Linked DNA regions of Homo sapiens: all the other regions are linked to region 4. The links are contacts of gene promoters, found by promoter capture Hi-C in human tissues and cell types (Jung and others, 2019). All regions are on one chromosome and are shown on one strand. The core of a region is centred on a gene start or on the middle of the fragment in contact, and the rest is flanking DNA. Distances in the headings are between cores, read along the strand shown. Region 1 overlaps UNC80 (unc-80 subunit of NALCN channel complex). Region 2 overlaps MAP2 (microtubule associated protein 2). Region 3 overlaps MAP2 (microtubule associated protein 2). Region 4 holds the start of UNC80 (unc-80 subunit of NALCN channel complex). Region 5 overlaps MAP2 (microtubule associated protein 2).

Region 1 (2,700 bases), core at 201-2,700, 69 kb before region 4:
TTTTCATACTATTACTTTGCTCTTCTGGCTTCCACATCTGGTTAGTTTGGTCATCAGTGTAGTTCATTCCCATGTGCCAAAAAAGACATCACTGTAACTAAAAGGAGGAACCAGGTCCCAGATTAAAAGCTAAATAATCAGGTGCTATAAAAATAATTGAGATATTCTTAGAGTTTAAATCTGATAAAGTCCAAACTGAAATTAATGAATAGCGAGACATAGTCATTCTTTACAAATACCACAATTGAGAATCAGACCAAAGTGAAAGATAGCTAAATAGAATACTTTAAATCTCTGTGAAAGAATCAGTATAAGGTAATTTATAGAGTGTACTATAATAAAAATGTAATAACATGTTTCTCTTTCTAAGAATTAAAATATGTTCTTCATCTTGCTTTTAGCTCAGCAGTACTCAAAATTTTTCGCACAGCAAGGAAGCTATGGGCCACACAAACTCAAATACATGACTTATGTTTTTTAGCAAATAGAAGGTAAGGAAGGAATGATACATATATTTTCTAAATATGCTATAGTCTTGCATATTATTTGTGTAATTTCAAAATATCACTTTTAAAACAGACTAGATAAAAGAAAACTGGTTTGGCTGGGCGTGGTGGCTCACACCTGTAATCCCAGCACTTTGGGAGGCCGAGGCAGGTGGATCACGAGATCAAGAGATCGAGACCATCCTGGCCAACATGGTGAAACCCCGTCTCTACTAAAAATATAAAATTAGCTGGGCATGGTGGCACGCACTAGTCCCAGCTACTCGGGAGGCTGAGGCAGGAGAATCATTTGAACCCAGAAGGCGGAGGTTGCAGTGAGCCGAGATTGTGCTACTGCACTCCAGCCTGGCCACAGATCGAGTCTCCATCAAAAACAAAACAAAACAAAAACAACAACAACAACAACAAAAACCCACAAGGAACAAAACAAAACAAAAACAACCCTGGTTTTAGTGAGATTAGAAAACAAAAGAATGCAAGCAAATAATTTGTACACATAAAAGGAAACATAACTCTTATCATATGCTGAAAATTAGGCATACAAATGACCAGGCCATGAAGCAACCACAGGGTGGACTCTCAGAAGAAACCTTACGTTACTCCAGTGCTTCACAGTATTACGAAGGAGGAGTGTAGTGAAAAAGGTCATCCCGAGATTCTTTCTTCTTTTCAATACAGACAGTGGTTCACATGGTGCCAAAAGTAGTGGGAAAAGGATGAATTATGTGTGTCTTAATATGTAAAAGGGATCACTGTAAAATTACCAGATCCTTGGACAGGAGTTTGAGATGTCAGTCATTTCATAGGTGTGTTAAAAGTTAAAAATAGCTGGGAAATAATGTCTATATACATCCCTATATCTGCATTATAATTTTATATAATTTTTTGACCACACTTTTCTTTTTCCCTTCCTATGATAGCCTACTACTTAAACAATTTAGTTTCCATTGCTTATCTAAGTTTCCAAAGTTAGCTCATCTGGAGAGTTTCTTCAGCTTTTCCTTATTTGGCCCCTGCAGGTGTTTGCTATTTCTCAGCCTTCACATGTTTGTATCAGCGACTTCAACAGTCACTTACACAAGTTATGTCCTGTTTACCTTGGAGCTTTGCCTGATGAAAGAGAGTCGGTCCACAGAGCTAATGTCCAGGAGGTCCTCCACACCATCTGCCAGGCCTGAGAGGGATGATCTCTTCAGCCAGTTCCCTATTTAATAGTTAAATCACTTAGATCAATGTAGCATTTTCTATCCAATCAATTAAACAGAAATGTCAACATAAGCCCAACAAGCGATGAAAGTTACATGGCTTGGTATAAATAGAAAAACAAATTGTTTTCAATGTACATGCTTTGAATAAAAATGTTCAGTGTTAGACTATAAAATTGCATAAGCATGTGGGACCAAGACGAAAAGAATCTGGGTTGAAAGGAAACCATCATCTATCCAGCTTCACATCTCTCATTAAAGCCTGTGAATTTTACCTCTTAAATACTTCTCAAATGTGTTCATTTATCTCTGCCTACATGGCCACCACCCAGTCCAAGCTTCCATTTACTTATACCTCACCTACTAGCTAACTTTCCTTCTGGTCTCCCTTATCTACTTATGCTCCCTCCAGTATGATTTCCATGCAGTGAAGTTTTGCAAAAAGTTTACTTGCTTGAGTTACTCTCCTGTTCAACATCCCATCTTGGCTATCTAGGGATCTAGAATGAAGAGTCAACCTGATCTGGCCCCTATCATTCTACTATAGTCATACCGCCACTTGTCCCCTTGTTTCAGTTCCTTCACTTCCCTTCAGCCTCCTAATATCTTTGCAAATAATGGCTACCTGGAGTGCTCTCCTTCCTTCTCCCAAGTATCCCGGAGATCTTAATGCCACTACCACTAGGAAGCCTTCCCTGATTTCTGCCTCCTCCCCCACATTCAGGTCAGGTCTCATTGTTGCATGCTTTCGTAGAACTATGTATATTTCCTTCATAAAATTCATAGTTTGCAATTACACTTAGTTGTATGATTATCCGCTTTAATGACTGGGGCTCCTACTATATTACAAGTTTAGCAAAGTTAGGAGGCTGTGTGTATTTGCTTGCTATTTAATCCTTGATGGCTAGTGTAGTGATTGCACACAGAAGAGGCACATAGTAGGGTATTGAAAAATACTGTGGGAAAAATTAAATGAATGAATGAATGAA
Region 2 (2,821 bases), core at 197-2,696, 110 kb after region 4:
ACCGCAAGGCAGCATTTGGCATACAGTGGCAAACATTTTTCTCAGACCTACACAAGTAATATAATCAAAGAATATATATATGTGTGTATATATATATATATCTCACACTTAAAAACACATTATTGCTTGATAAGAAATATAGTCTCAAGATATTTGAGCAATTTATTTGTTCAAAAGTATTAGATTTTTTATCTTATCTTTTTTTTCTTTTTCTCTTTTGTGAGGAGAAAATACTCCGAAATATAACAAAGGACAGATAAAGGCCATGCATAATCCTAACCAAAACAAAGGCTTAGACAGTCCAAAAATGAGTCTAGAAGACTCACTCCCATTACTTATTACTTTCATCTGTTTGCTAAAAATAAAAAAAGAATTTAAGAATTGTTTTAAATTTTTATCTAAATGGAGGTTTTTTAAATCTCAAAAAAATTGAAAAACATTAAAAGAAAAATATGATGACAAAACATGACAGCATATTAGAGGAGAGAAAACTTAACAAGATCTTGGAAAAAATGGGATGAGAGAAAGGTCAAGTAAAAATTACAATGATAATTAAATTATATTTGCACTTAAAAACAAACTAGAAAGAATAATTTTCATAAATAGGTCTGAATTGTCATTGGCAAAAATCTGTTTCGTTAAGATTCAAATTCAACAAAATAATTTTTAAAATGTCAGTGGACCAAAACGTCTGAGGAAATACTTTTTGCGCTTGTGATGTAGTTCTGACATTTAGCACAAAGCGAGACAAGAAACGAGACTGATTTCCACAGTGCATGGGAGGAATTTTCTTGAGGAACACACATAGAAGTACATGTGAATGCAATTAACCTCAGTTTTTAAATATCCTATTATATTGTGTTAGATAGAGCCTTGCTCTTCACAACTTGAAGTGTTTGTAGGCAATTAAAATTCCAAGGAATAAAATCATACCTTAATTTGTTGAGTCATAGGGTTTAATGGAAACAAGTCTTGAGAAACCAAGTTTTCCTCATATATCGATTAAGAATTACCGTCTTAAGAAAATCTCATCCTACCTTAAGACTGGACTACAGAGCAAAGACAGATTTTTATGGGACAAACTACCTTATAGCTGTACAATGAAACAAAACTTTATCTGATGTTGGTTTTTTTCCTCTAATTTGTAAAATATCAAACGCTGTGGCTGGCAATACCTGCTATATACAACCTCATATTGTATCAAGAATAAAAGACACAATTCTTTATTATAATATCCATATAAGCTAGCCCTAAATTAGGTTCAAATCCTATTCATCAACAAGCCAAGCCAAATATTATGATTGAAGCTAATCCCCACAACCAGCTTCACCTAGTAGAGAGACCACATAGGACAAAGCAAACGTGACAATACAAACCTCGTGGAACTGCCTTTTCTATCAATCCTTGTCTTTCTCACTCTTTCTAGCCCCGGATGCCTAACCTTTAGAAGGAAAACACTGAAAAGATCCCCATTTTCTGTCCTCATCCATCGGTGCCACCAGGCCCAGATGCTTCGCAGTGAGGCTGTGTGATTTTCTGCAGATCCACCCTTGAATGCTAAATAACTCTGCTCTGCACACTCCTCTCTCTGCGGAGCTCAGGGAAATGGCAGCCAGAGCAATGAGTGGTTGGCATGGCAACTAGGAAAGGAAAATCTGCAACCTCTCGCATTGTTAGGCGAGCTTGTTTATTTGCTTGGGGGGTTGGTGTGGATGGCTTTAGTCATTTTGCAGGAGAAATGGCTCAGTGCTATTTTGCTCCGCATAAATTAATATATTACATAGAATAGGCCATATTTTAAATGGGATGCTGACTCCTATTAGTAAATCGCAAATCTAGAAACGGAGGCAGGGGAGAAAGGGCGAGGTGAGAAAAGATAGATTTGAATCTTCTGAGATTGAAAAGCAGAACAGAGAGAAAAGCTTTATTTAAAGGCATATGCAGCTTTTTGCATGTGAGAGCTGCCAAACTTTTCCTTCATGTGTTTTCAAACTTAATAATTGCAGCAACAGGCCGGGTGTGGTGGCTCACGCCTGTAATCCCAGCACTTTGGGATGCCGAGGCGGGCGGATCACGAGGTCAGGATATGAAGACCATCCTGGATAACACAGTGAAACCCTGTCTCTACTAAAAAAAAAAAAAAATACAAAAAATTAGCCGGGCGTGGTGGCGGGCACCTGTAGTCCCAGTTACTCGGGAGGCTGAGGCAGGAGAATGGGTGTGAATCCGGGAGGCGGAGCTTGCAGTGAGCCGAGATCGCGCCACTGCACTCCAGCCTGGGCGACAGAGCGAGACTCGGTCTCAAAATAATAATAATAATAATAATAATAATAATAATAATAATAATAATAATTGCAGCAGGCCGGGCACGGTGGCTCACGCCTGTAATCTCAGCACTTTGGGAGGCAGAGGCAGGCGGATCACGAGGTCAGGAGATAGAGACCATCCTGGCTAACACGGTGAAACCCCGTCTCTACTAAAAAATACAAAAAAAATTAGCCGGGCTTGGTGGCGGGCGCCTGTAGTCCCAGCTATTGGGAGGCTGAGGCGGGAGAATGGCGTGAACCCGGGAGGCGGAGCTTGCAGTGTGCCGAGATCGCGCCACTGCACTCCAGCCTGGGCGACAGAGCGAGACTCCATCTCAAAAAAAAAAAAAAAAAAAAAAAAAATTGCAGCAACAATAAATGTATATAACTGAGTGTTGGTCACTTGGCTGCTGGAGTTATGTGGATGTGATAGTATAGGGCCAGATTTTATAAGACATAGCTCCCATGGTGAGCTCCCTGAAAAAGTGACAACGCAAAGCCTGGAAAAGCTTTTC
Region 3 (2,700 bases), core at 71-2,570, 89 kb after region 4:
AGGGTATCAAGGAGGGTAAATAATCCCCTAGATAAGGCAAAAAAATCCACCTGCTCCCTTTCCACCTGACCTGCTATAAGCAATATATTGATGGAATTTGGGCTGAGTATTTACAAACTACTTGGTTTGAAAAATTGAACAGTTCAATCCTGTCTTGTGACTTGTCACTAATTTATTTTCTGACAAAACTAAACTTAAAAAATACTTGTATATTACTTAAGTGTGGCTTAACATAAAAGAGAAACAGTAGTTTGTCTAGACCACAAATCTTTTACATATTTAAGGTGAGAATATTATCTGGTCTTTATAGAGATAGAGTTTATAAAATATATACATCTGTTTTTCTTAAAACTCAAAAAATGGTTATACTTTTAAAATCAAATAATCAGAACTTCAGATAGTTCAATACTCAAAAAGTTAAAAACACAAGTTTGGCTTGAAAATAACTTTGAATTACTTTCAATAAGAGGTTAGGTGGTATTTTCCTTGAATATCTTGAAACAGCTTGAAGAAAGTAATTCCAAAATATTAGGGAACTCTGGAAAGTTGACACCTAAGTTACCAAAATGTGAAGGTGATTCTACATTTTATTTATTTATGTTTTCATTATATCCATCATATTACCCTACAGGAAGCAGGCTGGGTGAATTCCCAGATGGATGGGAGGACTCTGCTTCTTCCCTTTCTGTTCCAAATCCCATATAGAGTAAGAAGATTAAATGACTTGACCTCAAGCCGACTTTTGGAGTAAACCTGCTCTGTCAACATCATATCCCTCTCTGGGTTAAGAGGATTCTCTGATGCTTGAAAAGCTTTAAGTAGGAGCTTAGAAACATTTTCCATGGCCTGAAGGAGGTACAAGGGTCATGTCAGGCTTCCCGCTGCATTCAGAATGAAATCTAGGCCACTGACCCCAGCTGACCACTGCTTACTCTCACACTCCACTGCTCTACCCTTTCTCACTACCCATCAGCCACGGACCCCCTTCAGTTCCTGGGTCACTTCATCTTCTTGGGCACCTGAGCGCCCTTGTGCTTTTTTCTATCTTTATTTGGCCAACACTTCCTCCTCATGCTTCTGGTCTCAGCTACTTAGCCATCCCCTCACCACCCAATAAAATCAGGTTTCTCTTGTAATATTTTAAAGCTCCCTATTCTTTTCCTCTTCAATGCTAATCCAATTTGAAATTATTGGTAAGCTTATTTATTGGATTTCTGTTCTCCACTAGATAGTGTACTATTTATTTATTTATTTTGAGATGGAGTCTCGCTATGTCACCAGGCTACAGTGTAATGGTGCCATCTTGGCTCGCTGCAACCTCCGCCTTCTGGGTTCAAGTGATTCTCCTGCCTCAGCCTCCCGAGTAGCTGGGATTATAGGCGTACGCCACCATGCCTGGCTAATTTTTGTATTTTTAGTAGAGACGGGTTTTCACCATGTTGGCCAGGCTGATCTTGAACTCCTGACCTCAAGTGATCTGCCCGCCTCGGCCTCCCAAAGTGCTGGGATTACCGGCTATAGTGTACTCTTTAAAAGCAGGGATCATGTCTGTTTTGTTCACTAGTATATACTCAGAATTTGAAGAGTACCTGGAAGACTGTAGGGCTCAATAAATATGTGCCCAGTGAATGGATAAACATAAGGTCAAAAGGAACTTTTCAAACCTATAAATTAAAAGATTAAATCACATTAACTAATAATCAGTGGCTGCTATGCACTGATTATTATCCCCAAAGTTTCTTTTATTCCTCAGAAAAATTTAGTTTGTTTATTATTTCAGGCAGTAAATTGGAAAAAAAAAGCTTCAATTTAAGAAAGAAAAACCTTGCTAAAATAAATTTAGGTTTATAAATCTGTGACAAAATAAAATTATATTAGAGGTGATAATATATGGTTCACTAATTCAAATTTTTGTATTTACGAAATCAAAGAATATTTTAAATGAACCTAATTACAAATGATAAAAAGACAAGTCTTTTAAAATAAATGTTCTTCAGTCTTTAACACAGTAAAAAGGAAAAATAAATGAATAAATGAATAAAATAAACACTTTTAAAATTCTGGTTTTAATATATGAAAACTAAGTAATGTTGAAACAACAATGGAGCCCTAGTTCTTCTCTGCCTTTTCCTGTGACTCTCAAACAATAAACAAAGGTTAACTGGACTAAGTCGGAGAACCAGTAATGGTTTCCTTTTAAGTAGTGCCTTTCATCTCAGATTCTGAATGAAAATTCTTCAAAGGCATCTTTCTGTTGTATCAATGAGAATTGAAAAGCTAACATGACATTCCATGTTGAGTAAGTTCATAAAAAGATCCATGGACAATAACAGGTCTCAACAGGAAAGAGTCATGAGCTCAGCTTCCAGTTCAATGCTCTCAATATCAGATTCATTCATTAACTTCTTCATTTATTCATTAATATTTATTAAATTTGCTATGAGTCAGGCCCTGGGGAAGGTCTTGGCAATATAACAGTGAGCAAAACAGAGATAATTCCTGACACTTTCATAAGGAAGTGTTGATTTCATTGATAAATCTGACCCCTACTATTATGGAGATTACATTTATATTTATTTTAATTTTTGTTCAGTCACTTACAAGGTAGAATTGTATCTTCCCTGTTAAAGCATTCTAAAGTGAATGGGGTCTCTACAGTTATTTTAGCAACTGAACACAAAATTCTTTTCCTTAATCAAG
Region 4 (2,710 bases), core at 11-2,510:
GAAAAATTAATAGAGATATTTGTTAATAAACATAAGTAAAATTATTATTAAAGCATCCTTGTGACGTATTTTTCAATGAATAAGACAGGATGCTATGAAATTCAAATTTCATGCTTCCTTATAGCTTTTTAATGAGCAGGTGTTGAACAGCTGATGACATTTTCTTTTACACGTGTAATTGCATATATGAAAGAGAAGTGGATCTCGATGGTTTTCGGTATCCACTCTTAATCTGAAGACTTCTAAGATTTTAAATCGCCAGTGGTCAGAAGTGGTGCATTACTTACGTGTACAGTCATAATAAAAACTGAAAATTGAACACGGCTTATGGGTCATAATTTCCAGAATCTAATATCTTATCTGATAAATCTCTAAAATAACAATAATAAAGAAAACCTTTTCTGTTTATTGGAATAGGTGTCAGGCCTTTCCGGGGTTGTGGGGGAAGGTCCCTTATCACAAATCCTCAGGAGATTTAACTGGGGAGATTAATCTGAGCAAAACGGTTAACAAGTGGGCATAGCAGATATTCGCCAAACAGGAGCTGGAAAAACAACAGGTCACTGGGCTAGAATTACAGCAGGAGATGGAGGGGGAATTGGACGCAGGAGCACAACCAGTCATAATTATCTAGCTCCCCGCCCCCTCTTCCCAGGCTCTCTGCCCTCCCACCCCCTAAAATAATGTATACATTTATGCGACAACTGCCAATCTGCTTGTCGTCAAACTTCACTGAAATATATACATATATATACATATTTTAATGCGTGTTTTTAAGCTGGTGCAGAGGGCTTGTTTTCCAGCCCCAGAGAGGGAGCTGCAGGCTGTGGCGCGGCCTCAGCGGCGGCGGCGGCAGCGGCGACCCGGGCGGCCCCAGGAGCGCCCCCAGCCCAGGGCGGCCCGCGGTGCGCCCTCTGCGCCCCTCACCTGGTTTGCCGCCACAGGAAGGTCTGGATGGGCAGGGGGATGCCGCGGCCGCCGTCCTGCTCCTGGCCCTCGGAGCTCTTCCTCTTCACCATAATGGTGGCTCCCGGGAGTCCTACTGCAGGACCCAGCTCTGTCTCCTCGCTAGCCGCCGCCGCCGCCTCCTCCCGCTGCTCCCAACTCTCATCCCCTCCTTCCCCGAGGCAGAGCCGGCTCTCTCCGCCCTGATCCCCCGTGCCTCTCCCCTCCCCCCACCCCTCCCCGCGCGTGGAACATGGCTGCGGGAGGAGGGGAGGGCTGGAGGAGCCGCGGAGCGAGGAGGGGGGCGCTCGGAGCAGCGGTCCGCCTCGCCGCCCCCGCACCCGCTCCCTGCTTTCAGCACCTCCCACTGTGGACAGCGGCCCGCGCCGGGCTGCACGGCCGGAGAAGCGAATCCGGGGCAGCTTGAGCCGCAGGGGTACGGCCCAAGAAGTCCACGCTCCGCATCGCAGGCGCTCGTCCCCTGCGCGGCCTCTTCAGCCCCCGGAATTCGGCTTTCCCCGCTCCGAGCTGCACTCAGGAGTGTCCCCTGTCCTGCTTTCCAACCTCAGCATCCAAACTGTCGCCGTCTGGGTAGGAGGAGCTTTGGGGAACCGCAGAGCAGTCGCTAACCCTGGCATCATTCTCACCTCCAGCAAGGAGATCAGGAGTCCAGGGGTTAGCCGGAGGAACACATGAAAATTATTAGAAGTGTAAACCAGGAAGGTGAGGCAAGGTTGGCAAGTGAGAGGAAGCTTGAAAGATCTTAGATATGAGAAGTTATTTTTATATGATAACCACAAGAAATAAACCTTGTTTGTTTTCCTAAAGCAGGAATACAAAGTTCCCAAAGTAACCAGTTGTGGATATCAGTTAATTGCAAATTGAGGAAGAACATTTGAATCATGCTGTGAGGAAATGTGGTTTATTACAGTCCATTAAATGCACTTGGGTGATCCTGTTCGCCCCCAGTGATAGCTACCATTTTCCTTCAGTTGTAATAGTCAAATGCTTATATGTTACATATATTAATATTTTATAGTTGGATTGCTGTTAGATATATTATCTAGGAGTAAAACAAGTAGGCCGGGGAGGGGGGTGAGGTGGGGTGAAGCAATCGGAATAGTAACTACCTGCAATTCCTCCTCCTCCCCCTCCTCCTTCTCCTTCTTCCTCCTCCTCCTCCCCCTTCTCCTCCTCCTCCTCTTCTCCTCCTTCTCCTTCTTTCTTCTTTCTTGTTCTTTGACGGAATCTCGCTCTTCAACCAGGCTGGAGTGCAGACGTGTGATCACGACTCACTGCAGCCTTGACCTCCCAGGCTCAAGAGATCCTCTCAGCTCAGTCTCCCCAACAGTTGGGACTACAGGTGTGCACCACTACTCCCAGCTAATTTTTTATTTTTGTAGAGATGGGGGTCACACTATGTTTCCCAGGCTAGTCTCAAACTCCTGGGCTCAAGCAATCCTTTCACCTTGGCTTCTCAAAGTTCTGGGATTACAGGCATGAGCCACCATGCCTGGCCTCATCTTTTAGAGCAAAGATATTGGTGTAATCCATGAAATGAAGAATCAGACTCCAGGTCCTAATCTCAACAGATGTAATATTTCATATATAATTAACAGCATAGTATATATCAATATTTTTTGCCATAGAAATAAATTCTTCATTTACTTTCTTGAAGTTATCTTTTATTATGAATCTCAAAAATATGGATCTTATGATCTCAAATATGGATCTTGAAACAAAGAAAGATTCTAAGTACAGTTTA
Region 5 (2,701 bases), core at 16-2,515, 72 kb after region 4:
TTCACTAGTAGAAAATGAAGGAAATAGCATACAAACTGAACTTAGCCAAAAAGTTCTCTACAGTAATATTGTTAAAATACCAACAAAAAATTCTAAAAGTCAAATAATAGGAAATTGATTAAGTATATCATTGCAAAGAAATAAAATGCAGTATTACGTAGTCATTAAAACTTACAAAATGTTCAACGACATGGAAGTACATTTACTGTTGAATTTAAAAAGTGATACACAGTGTTCTCATTTTTGTTGTTAAGCCTATAAATGTATAGAAAAAAATTAGGATTTTACATCAAAATGATAGCTGTGTTTATCTTTATGATAAGAGGATTATAATTGATTTCTACTTCTTTCTGCTTGTGTGCAGTGCTTCATTTGGTCATATTTCTATTTTGTAACAAAAACAATGAAAGTGTATTATAAAATACAGTTACTGTTGATTATATGGTTTAATTTGATTCTATGAAAAGTAACTAAACTGGACTTCCTTACTTTTGCCATATCATTGTGCTGCTTTCTATGTTTTTGTCTTACTAGTAAGGAAGCAGTCCAGCTGTGCCCTCACCAATTACCATCATACGCCATCCCAGAAGACGTTCATCCTTCCATGCCTGGATGCCACGGAGAATCTTCTGGGTGAGCGAACTATTTAAAGTGACTTTTAAGAGTAAATATCTAAACAATATCAAAAGTTATTCTGATGTTACAGCTAATACCAAAGGAACTTCAAATGAAGAACAAGGAAAAACTTATTTTACTCACAGAGACTTTGTCCTTTGCCTGTTTAAATACACTGGGAGCCAGAGCTGATTCCCCACCTGCTGCTGTTGAAAATAAAAGACAAACAACCCCAAACTTAGTTGCTAAAAAGTCATAAATGCAGTTTTAAATACCTGTAGGATATTCTGTTGTGTCAACAGACTAATGCAAAGCAAAAGTTTGCTTATTATGAGACTCAAATTCAATAACTCAAGTAACATGAATAACAATAACATAGCATGTGGCTCCAACAAATAGTGTGTGCTAATTAATATAACCCATTGTCTACCAAAGTGCAGGTAAGCACACCACGTAATTTTTCTATTGATTACCAATGTATCTTTGAATCACTAGTACGTAAGGAGATCCTTTAGAACAGAAGTTACAGAATAGCAATGTGAATGTTGCAAAATTTAAGAAAAAGAACACTGATTGGTTTCTGGGGTTCACATGATATATAGAAGAGGGTTCATAGAGATTTCCAAACCCTCTTCTTGTTCTGGAAGCCACTGGCATAACCATAGATATTTCGGTATTTTACATTTCAAACTGTCATGATCAGCTAACCCCTTTCCCTTTGTATCCCTTCATTTCACAATATGAATGACATACTTGTTTGATGTGAAAATGCCACATGAGAAGGGAAGAAAAATAGCTTGTCAAGAACAGAAAACACGAGAGAAAATTTAAGTTCAGTAAATACAGAACATGTTCTACACATGCACTTCCTGTATGAAATTATTACCACATCTGTTACTGTTGTTTCTCTTGCTGCTGTTTTATGCTTCTGGATTCAATTTTAAACTCCATTATCTCTAGCACATTTTGGTTGATGACTTACCTGAGGTAGCTTAGCTCTCATGATTTAAAACAATCCCTTGTGGTTTGGAAAACCATCTATGTTTGAAAATTGGGCTTAGAAGATAAAATAATCAAGCTTGTGTGTTTATTCCTCCTTAATTTTCATTCATAAAATAGAAACCCTCAGAAAAAAAATGTATCCTTATAAGCCCTCTGAATAAGTTCTAAAAAGGTATTTTTATGACAGGTACAGTTCTGACACAAACATAATAACTGTCTACAATATGCTTTATGCCATGTAGGACTAGCTAGTGAGATTTTTCAGATTCTAGGACTCATTGTTTTTAAGGAAGCAGTGAAAACGATGCCTTACTACTATCTCTGTAATATAACTCAAATTCTTGTGACATGTATAGCTTGCTTCAAACCAATGACACCTACATCTGATACATGCTTTCTCCTAAAGTATCTTAACATTAGACCAGAATAAAGGAAAATCTTCATTAGTTCAAAGATTTTAAATTTCTTTCAAAGAATGAATAAAAACACAATTTACTTTAAATGTGGCAAATTGAATACCAATGACATGTAAACACTTTACTAAACCATTTTACGTTTTCTCTAAAATTCCACAATCCTGATGACATCTTTCATCCTTTTAGGTAGGTTATAGAGTTTTTATGCTAAATCAAGAGATTCTGCTTGCCCAAGCAATTTTGCTACTAAGTTTAATGAAGCTATTAATTTGCTATTAAGTTTAATGAAGTTCTAAGTTTAATGAAGCTAAAAACCTGAGAAAATGAATTGAGGTATGTCACGTTAATTCCTAACTCCTAGCTTCAGATATATTCTTCATCCTGAAGCTTTATCAAGGTGTGCGTATATACAAGCCTTCTATTTTCAAATCCTGCCTTAGATTCTTGTTTTTGAAGGAAAGCACATGATATGATTTCTAGATGAAGAACACAAATACAAAATACTTGGAATTTTCAATGGCTAAAATAAAACCATCAGTTACCTTGATTTTCTCTTTCTCACAAAGGCTAATGTTCCTCTTAACCTTTAAAACCATCCGAAGATTTATATAGAGGCATTGATGATGTACAATGGAAAGAAAAACATTCTTTTCTGATTTAGCAATCTG

The links. The method cuts DNA at HindIII sites, captures the fragments that hold promoters and counts their contacts. A contact is called where the count stands out against the background at its distance.
Region 1: a contact is called between a fragment that was not itself captured here and the fragment with the promoter of UNC80 in region 4, in 2 of the 25 tissues and cell types used here (bladder and hippocampus).
Region 2: a fragment that was not itself captured here is called in contact with the fragment with the promoter of UNC80 in region 4 in 2 of the 25 tissues and cell types used here (H1 embryonic stem cells and dorsolateral prefrontal cortex).
Region 3: a fragment that was not itself captured here is called in contact with the fragment with the promoter of UNC80 in region 4 in 3 of the 25 tissues and cell types used here (dorsolateral prefrontal cortex, hippocampus and pancreas).
Region 5: a contact is called between a fragment that was not itself captured here and the fragment with the promoter of UNC80 in region 4, in 2 of the 25 tissues and cell types used here (mesendoderm cells and thymus).

The regions. Positions count from the first base shown.
Region 1 is chr2:209,839,552-209,842,251 of GRCh38, reverse strand. UNC80 (unc-80 subunit of NALCN channel complex) reads right to left here. Exons shown (of 65, transcript NM_001371986.1): 20 at 1,604-1,710. Among named protein-coding and RNA genes, the nearest start is that of UNC80, 69 kb to the right of the region's middle. The HindIII fragment of the contact is 4,031 bases long and covers 1-2,700 here.
Region 2 is chr2:209,660,234-209,663,054 of GRCh38, reverse strand. All of the region lies in intron 5 of MAP2 (microtubule associated protein 2), which reads right to left. Among named protein-coding and RNA genes, the nearest start is that of UNC80, 110 kb to the left of the region's middle. The HindIII fragment of the contact is 3,752 bases long and covers 1-2,821 here.
Region 3 is chr2:209,681,045-209,683,744 of GRCh38, reverse strand. The region is part of intron 7 of MAP2 (microtubule associated protein 2); the gene reads right to left. Among named protein-coding and RNA genes, the nearest start is that of UNC80, 89 kb to the left of the region's middle. The HindIII fragment of the contact is 3,730 bases long and covers 1-2,700 here.
Region 4 is chr2:209,770,382-209,773,091 of GRCh38, reverse strand. UNC80 (unc-80 subunit of NALCN channel complex) reads right to left here and starts at 1,260. Exons shown (of 65, transcript NM_001371986.1): 1 at 928-1,260. The coding sequence starts at 1,019. The HindIII fragment of the contact is 3,928 bases long and covers 1-2,653 here.
Region 5 is chr2:209,698,397-209,701,097 of GRCh38, reverse strand. MAP2 (microtubule associated protein 2) reads right to left here. Exons shown (of 16, transcript NM_001375505.1): 11 at 760-821. Among named protein-coding and RNA genes, the nearest start is that of UNC80, 72 kb to the left of the region's middle. The HindIII fragment of the contact is 5,822 bases long and covers 1-2,701 here.